2 separate regions of the Homo sapiens genome follow, and region 1 is linked to region 2. Evidence: promoter capture Hi-C in 16 types of primary human blood cells and fetal thymus (Javierre and others, 2016). All regions are on one chromosome and are shown on one strand. Each heading gives the region's core, a stretch centred on a gene start or on the middle of the fragment in contact. The rest is flanking DNA. Distances are from core to core; before and after follow the strand shown.

Region 1 (4,149 bases), core at 1,517-4,016, 520 kb before region 2:
ACTCTTTTAAGTTGAAATTTCTTTCCTTTGTTCTGAGAGTATTAGCAACTTCTCCTCATGTCACTTATATTTTCTGGCATGTATTATCAACAGTGGACATAACTCAAATGAAGTGACAAAGTGTGAACAACTGTGACTCAGTTTGTGCACATGGGAAGTGACGACAAAGTCCTTGCTGCTGCCTGGCAGTGCAGGTTATAAAAATGCATCTTGATTTCAGACATGTGATAAGTGCTAAAGCTAGAAAGGTGAATAAAGCAGATACAGTCTCTACTCTTAAGGAGTTCACAGTTTAATGGAGAAGTTGAACGTTAATTAAATATGTATAAAAAGCAATTACGTGATTTAAAGAGTGTAAGATATCCTAACACATAGAAAGCAAGTAATAAATTTTTGATGAGCTGGGTATAAGGAAGTATAGGATGCTATCATGGCAAAAAAAAATATGCTACATATTACCAAGGATAACTTTTCAGCTGCCATAACATTGATCGAAATAATAAAAATAAGAATGCTATTCTTTTTTCACGTAATAGTCTCATAAGTGGCCCAGGCCTGGCTGACTGGCTCTGCTTCATGCAAGCCACATTCATTCTATTGTTTTGCCACCCTCAACAAGCTGACTACCACCGTCAGGTCTAAGTCTAGCCAGTGGGAAAAGGGAAAGAGGAAGTAAAGGGCAAACACCTTTCCTTCTAAGGCAGGACCCAGAAACTGCACATATTACTTTTTCCTTTGCCTGATTCTGGTCACATGGCTACTTCCTGCTGCAAGCGCAGCTGGGAAATGTAGTTTTTACTTGCATAAAGCCATGTGCCCAGATAAAACTTGTATTACCAGGGAAGACCTGATATTTGAGAGGAAACTAGCAATCTCTACACAGGGAGATTTGATGTAGTTTTAAGGAGGGAGTTAAGAGAAGGCTCCTTTGAGGAAGAACAATTCAGCTGGAATCTGAAGAATGAGGAGGAGCTTCCTGCAACACTGGGTGGAGGGCAAAGGGAAGAGCATGCTAGGCAGAGGAAACAGCAGGTGCAACTGCACCGAGGCAAGAAGGAAAGGGGATGTAGATGCATTGCAGGAGTGAACAGAAAGCTCTGGAACACAGAAGAGACAGTGTTAGTTGAGATTGGGTAGATAGGCAAGGCCAGATGGTGTGGGACCTTGCCCATGTTTACTGTTTTGTTGTGCATTAGAACCGGGCTTTCAACTGAGGTCTGACTTCAAAGCCACCCTTTCTTTCTCAATCCAGATGGATGATTGCCTCATTAAGTCATCAGCAGTGACTAACGTTGCAGTCACTGATTTAATTTGGTCCATGTGGGCACCTGGCTGTGGTAGCCTTTGAAGCTTCCTAAGGTAGCCTTGATGAGCAGTCAAGGATGAGAACCACTGGTCCAGTGGGGTCCTTGGCTGAAACCATAACCCATCAATTTTATTGCTAGCACATTTTGAGAGTGTTCTAAGCTAAACACTTTACATGTATGATGTAATTTTCTACCTTGCTAAGGAGGTTATTATTTCCATTTTACTGATGAAGAGATTGAGGCTCAGAGAGGTTAAGTAACTTGCCCAAGGTCACATGGCCAGTAAACAGCAGAAGCGTACGCTGGGGAGATTACCCAGAAACTCTGTTCCTTTCTGTCCTTCCAACATCCTACTTACTCATGGCTGTACAGCTCCTCCTTGATCTGACTTAGCTTGAAAGATCATTTTGTACCAAGAAGTTGGTTGGTCCCAAACAAAGGTTTTCCAGGAAACCCCTAGTCTTCTAATACCCCTCAGTGAAAGCAACAGAAAGGCCCCAAACCAAATCAGTTGATCAATTGTTTCCTTTCCTAGACCCAGGCTCTGACTTATCCTCCCAAACAGTGGCTCCCAACGTTTTTGGCACCAGGGACCAGTTTCGTGGAAGAAAATTTTCCCATGGGCCACAGAGGGGATGGTTTTGGGATGATTCAAGCATGTTACATTCATTGTGCCCTTTATTTCTATTAATATTACATTGTAATATATGATGAAATAGTTATACAACTTATAATGTAGAATCAGTGGGAGCCCTGAGCTTGTTTTCCTGCAACTAGACAGTCCCATCTGGGGGTGATGGGAGATAGTGACAGATCACCAGGCATTAGATTCTCATAAGGAGCAGGCAACCTAGATCCCTTGCATGCACAGTTCACAATAGGGTTTGTGCTCCTATGAGAATGTAATGCCACCTCTGACCTGACAGGAGGCAGAGCTCAGGCAGTAATGTGAGCAATGGGGAGTGGCTGTAGATGGAGACAAAGCTTTGCTTGCTCACCCGCTGCTCACCCCCTGCGCCCTGTTCCTAACAGTACCAGTCCATTGCCTGGGGGTTGGGGACCCCTGCTCCAGAACCCTGCCTGTGTTTATTAGGGAGAAGTTAGAAAGTTCTTTGATCTGGCCAGGCGTGGTGGTTCACGTATGTAATCCCAGCACTTTGGGAGGCTGAGGTGGGCAGATCATGATATCAGGAGATCGAGACCATCCTGGCTAACACAGTGAAACCCCGTCTCTACTAAAAATACAAAAATTAGCCGGGCGTGGTGGCGGGTGCCTGTAGTCCCAGCTACTCAGGAGGCTGAGGCAGGAGAATGGTGTGAACCCGGGAGGCGGAGCTTGCAGTCAGCCGAGATCGCGCCACTGCACTCTAGCCTGAGTGACGGAGTGAGACTCCATCTCGAGAAAATAAGAATAAAAAGTTTTTTTGATCCTATGTAAGCCGTGGAACTGTGCCTCCTCTATGGCGGTGGTTCCCCTCAGGCCAGGCCCAAGGCCAGCATTGGGCCTGCTCCAAGGGCTCACCAGTCCCTCAGACTTCCCAGAGGAGAACGTCTAGCCTTGACCACCATCTGTCACCAGATTGAGCACAGTGCTGCTCAAGGCTTTCTGTCTCCACCATCTGAGAGGAAGATGAGGCTGCAATGTACAGGCTCCTCAGGGCCATTCATAAGATGGAAATCTGGGATGCCTGCCACATAGGCCCTGAAAAATGACACTTGATTTTTATCCAAAAACCAAACCAAAAACCAGAACGAACAACCCATGCAAAAACTCCAAAAGGCTGTTGTGGTGGAATGAGAAGAAAGAAGACCTGGCCTCCAAGACCAGGCTCTGCCACTACCTAGCTGTGCAGCCTTGGGCAAATTGCTTAGCCTCTCTGAGCTTGTATCTCTTTCTGTAAAATAGCTATGATGACACCCATCTCAAAAGCTTGTCTTAACTTGCTTAGCACAAGGACTAGCATATCCGAAGTCCAAATACATGATTGCTCATTCATTACTTTTGCCAGCATGGTGGCCTGCACTCATTATGTGTTTGTTGGTTGTGTTTCAAAAGTATCCTAAGAAAAAACTGAATAGGTATGGTTTTGTCATAATATGGATCAAAGACGTTTGCGGCTTGCCTGAAAACCCTGACATGATCTTAATAACTTAGGTCACAAGTAAACAATTTATTACCATGACAAGCACAAGCCACAGCTACCACTTATTGAACACATACTGGGTGCCAGGAGATATGCTAGTGCTCCACATGCATTATCTCATTTAATCTTCACAGTAAATGAAGAATTGAATGCATCAGACCTCAGTAGAGGAAATAATCTACTCTGGGTGTTTCAGCAGGAAGGGATTTAAAATGGGATACTATGTGCTTTCAAACACTGCAAAGCCCAAAGGAGCAGGTTCTCAGCTGGTCCTGCAGGCTCGACACCCAGAACAGTGCAGACCTGGTTCTCCAGGAGAGCTGCTACCTCAGAGGCTGGCGCTGGAACCACTGAGTTTACGAGGACACGCAGCGGTAGCGGCAGCGGCAGCGGCAGCGCAGTCAGGAGGCTGGAGAACATGTCTTGTGTCTTGAAGCACAGTCCTGAAGAAGCACCTTACCTCTGTGACCCCGCTTGCCAGCAGAGAAATGTCCCAAAGGGATGGGAAAAACATCTTTACTGCACTTCTGCTTTCCAAATCTTGCAGAAAGACATCTACTTTGAATCCAAAACCTAATTGCATTTGTTGTCTAGAATCTAATCTAATTTGCATCCAGAATCCTAACAGCTAAGGAGACTGGGAAATACAGTACTTAAATTTCCAGCCTCTACTGGAAAGAATGGTATGCATCTTGAGT
Region 2 (3,889 bases), core at 1,137-3,636:
AACGTTCTGGTTCTGGAAGCCATGTGACTGCGCAGAACAACCTAAGAAACCCTTTGTGTCCTGAGGGGTCGTTGACCTCTCCTTCCGGGTCGGAGCAGTCACTCTGAGGGCAAAGCGTGGTCCACTGTGTGTGATGTTTTCAGGATGCTAGGGTCAAAGAAAGAAACCAAGTGGTACATAAGCCCAGCTTTTCTGCTGGGCTAAGTGTAAGTGTGAGTAACATGGTCAAGCCCCTCTTTTTTGGGCTAATGTAAAGCCTTTCCTGCCTTGCATTAATGCTATCTCCCTGTGTACTGTTTCTCTTAAATGAGCAGATAGAAATCTGCAGTGTTGGCAGATAGGTGATGGAGAGGATGATAATTTTATCTTCTGGCCACAGAGCTGCAGCCCCAGTTGTCAGAGTCCTTAAATGAAACCCCCAAATCCATCCCTCCTTCCCTACCCCCACTGGAATATTCTAGAATAAGAGCACTGGATAAGTACACTTGAACACATTTTTCTAACCTTAGAAAATACCTACAAGGCCTGTTGTCTTGACCCATTACTCAATTGTCCCTGGCATATTATCTGATCTTCACGTTTCTTGGAAGCAGAATCATCAAGGCTTTCCTTTGTAACTGCCCTTTCCGTACACAGCAGGCATGAATAAATGCTGAGTAACAGACAAGTTACAGACAGGAGGGGAAAGAGGAGGAACCATACAACTGTTTTTGCAAAATGATGGCTGAGTCCAGATTATAGAGGTTGCCTTACCCTTAGAATGTTATTTAGACCAAGTTTAGCTTTTAGAGTCCAGGTCTGGTTAATTGCCAGGGTAGCAAAGAATCGCATGCACCAATGTAAACAGGAGTCAGAATGCATTATTAGTCAAAGATCGAATTTCACATTGTAGAGATGTATAGCTGTGATTAAGCTGCATATGTATGCTGGGAAACGGCTTGAGTGGATGGCTAATATAAAAGTTGTTGGCCATAATGCCACACCTCTCATCTGCTTGAAATATGGACCAGTATTCTAAAATATCAGCTACTGGGGTCTCATTCACTACAAGATAAATTCAAACTTCACAGAACTTTGCAGCAGTTCACCACCAGACGGGACTGTGTCTGCAAACTCTCTTGTCTTCACAGACGCCTAATAAAGCAAAACTCTGAATCTCATGTGGCCCAGATTTTTTTTCCCCCCATCCTGGGTTTGCAAACTGCATGATGGACACGTCAGTACTGATCTCCCTCTCTACCCCATCTCAGGTGGTGGAGAGAGAGTTTCAGTTTTTTCCAGGTGCTGTAAGTTTTCTTAAGTTATTCTAACAAGACTAGGCCCTTTGTTTGCTGGGAACCAAGGCCCCATCGATGGGCACAGAGCCCCTTTTCTCTGGAAGAAAGTGGTCTAGCCAGAGGGAGGGCAGGTAAGCAGAGTGACCACTGCCAATGCCACTGCACCCCAGTGTAAGTCATTAAAACATGCAGAAGGCCTGGCTGGGCTCTTGCCCCTGGGCATCCCAGCCGTCACGTGAAACTGGCTGTGTCCAGAGCCTACACCTGAGTCGCCCTCCACAGTTGGCTCTGAAAGCTTCCTGATGGCCCGAGGTATGTTCTAAATGGGGTGATAAAAGAGAGGTATAAATGGTGGTCGGCTCCACCAGCCTTCATTTGCAGTTCAATTTTCAGAAAAGTAGAGGTAGGGAAGGCCGGGAGGTGCAGCAAACAAGCGTGTCCTGGAAGTAGCGCAGCTTCAGCGTCATTTTCTGTAAAGGGAGCAGCCAGCACATGCTGGTTCATAGGGCGGACATCTTGGTGGGTTTCAATTCAATGAGAGGAAGTCTGGGTGTCCCTCCAAGAGTGATTAGAAAGAAGGATGACTCACCTTCCCCAGGTGGACAGCCACTCCTCTCTGCCTTCACCTGTCCCGGCCACCTGAAAATCTGCCCCTCCTAACAGGAGACAGGGAGGGAGGGGCTGCCAGGCCCAGGAAGCTCCTGTATTGGAGGCGCCAGGGCCCCCAGGCCTCGCCTCCTCCCGCCCACTGCCGGCCCCGCCCCCTGTTCCCGCCCACCCGCTTCCCCGGCCAGACCTGCAGACCCAGGCGCCGCAGTGTCTACACCCGCAAAAACGCCCGCTTTGACTTAGAGCCCTCCGCATATCCTTCCCCTGGCTGGGGCAGCCAAGGCGCGGAGGACAGCTCCGAGGCCAGATGTTTACTGCGCAGATGCCCGACTTTACACCGGGGTCCGGGCTGTGCCGGGCGCTGGGGGAAGCGCCCACCTTCCAGGTGGGACCGCGGGAAGGGTGGGGGAGGGGCAGGCTGGCGGTGGTGGGGCCTTTGTGCTCCACCGGGTGAGCGCACAAAGGCCTGGTGGAAGGCAGGGATCCTGGGCGGCCGGGCAGAGGCCAAGTGGGCACCGGATAGCGCCAGCCCCGCCCAGGTGAGCGCTGAGGTGGGATTGGAAGAGGGTGGCTAGGAGGGGCCCTACTTTCTACCCACTCCTAGCCCCCTTTCTCAGGACACCGCCTTTCTTCCCACCCTCCTCCCTGCCCACCTCCTCCAGGCAGGCTTATACCCCAGCTGATGCTTTTGGGCAACATATCCTGTCCCTGAGAGTTTAGAGGTCATCTGTTCGCACCCCCTTTCACTCTGGAACCCTGAAACCAGTTACCTAACCTCTCTGTGCCTTATTTTTCACATTTATAAAATGGGGGTTCCAACAGGAACTCATTCTTAGGGAAGCTGTGGGGATTAAAGGAGAATGCGGTTCTGCTGCAACCACATGGGGATAGCCAGTGTTCCCTGTCTGTTGCCTTTTTAAATTGGGGAATGGGTATAATATAGCATTTATATCATGGGGCTGTTGAGAGGATTAAACAAGCGTGGAAAGCTTTCAGAAAAGTAAGCAGGTGGTCAGTATGGGTGGGACATGGTCTCACAGCCAGGTCTGTCTGACTCCAGGCCCAGTGCTTCCTCCCAGGAGTCAGGTACGTGATGCCAGGGGTTAGAGTGGCCTAGACGCGGCACAGTCCTCACTGCTGTCAGCCTGGCGGGGGCTGAACTGTCTTAACAATCCCCATCATTGCTGACTAAGCCATGACTGTGGCCCTCTCCTCCACCCTGAATCCTCTTCTTCCAGCCTCAAAGGCATTTCTTTAAAGAGATGAACTGGCTCAGCAGGGCAGGACTTGGCAAGGCCTCAGCCCACTTGGGGGGAATGACCAGCGATACCCAAAGAGGGAAGGTGTCTTATTGCAGAAACAGCATCCACATAAACTGATGTTTCAGTGGAGCCCCCTGAAGCAGAGGGTGGCCTCTGCTTACCCTCCTTGGACTCCATGTCTGCCTTTTGGGACTTCCTGATTCCTTCAAGCCAGAATTTCTTCTCCCTTGTTTGTGTGTGTGTGTGTGTGTGTGTGTGTGTGTGTGTGTGCATGTGTGTGCCGGCGGGTGGGGGGAGGCTTCTGAGCATTGCAGGATGTTCAGTAGCATCCCATCCCCCACTTCTGACAGCCAAATATGCCTCTGGACATTGCCAGATGTTCCAGGGGTAATGGTGGGGGCTGGCAAAAATCACCACTGCAACCTGATTTCACCTGGATCAAGAAGGAGGTCTGGGGGTGTGCGGGCCTCATCTCTCTCCTCACCTGAGGCTCATGAACCTAACACAGGGGCTTCTGGGCTTGCTCAGAAGCTTTGCATTCCCAGCCTCTATCATGTTTCACAGCCATAGTATGAGTACAGTTCACAATTGTTGGATGGCTGGAGGTCGGATGGAGGGGAGAGGAGACCCTGGTAGGTGTGATCTACACACTGTTATCCAAGTTAACATAAAAGGTGATGGGCCCTTGGTAATAGGTCATTGGTTTGTGACTGAAGCCAGCTGTGTCTCTGGCTTTGGGTA

Evidence for each region. The method cuts DNA at HindIII sites, captures the fragments that hold promoters and counts their contacts. A CHiCAGO score of 5 or more calls a contact.
Region 1: a fragment that was not itself captured here is called in contact with the fragment with the promoter of SPMIP5 in region 2 in 5 of 17 cell types (naive CD4 T cells, naive CD8 T cells, M0 macrophages and 2 more); the score reaches 7.4 in naive CD4 T cells.

What each region holds. Positions count from the first base shown.
Region 1 is chr10:117,184,136-117,188,284 of GRCh38, reverse strand. No RefSeq gene overlaps it. Among named protein-coding and RNA genes, the nearest start is that of KCNK18, 11 kb to the left of the region's middle. The HindIII fragment of the contact is 946 bases long and covers 2,294-3,239 here.
Region 2 is chr10:116,668,463-116,672,351 of GRCh38, reverse strand. It overlaps SPMIP5 (sperm microtubule inner protein 5), which reads left to right and starts at 2,386. Exons shown (of 6, transcript NM_001350931.2): 1 at 2,386-2,425. HSPA12A (heat shock protein family A (Hsp70) member 12A) reads left to right here. Exons shown (of 12, transcript NM_025015.3): 12 at 1-1,160. It overlaps HSPA12A-AS1 (HSPA12A antisense RNA 1), which reads right to left and starts at 2,297. Exons shown (of 3, transcript NR_187551.1): 1 at 2,074-2,297; 2 at 1,867-1,958; 3 at 1-147. The HindIII fragment of the contact is 1,303 bases long and covers 1,575-2,877 here.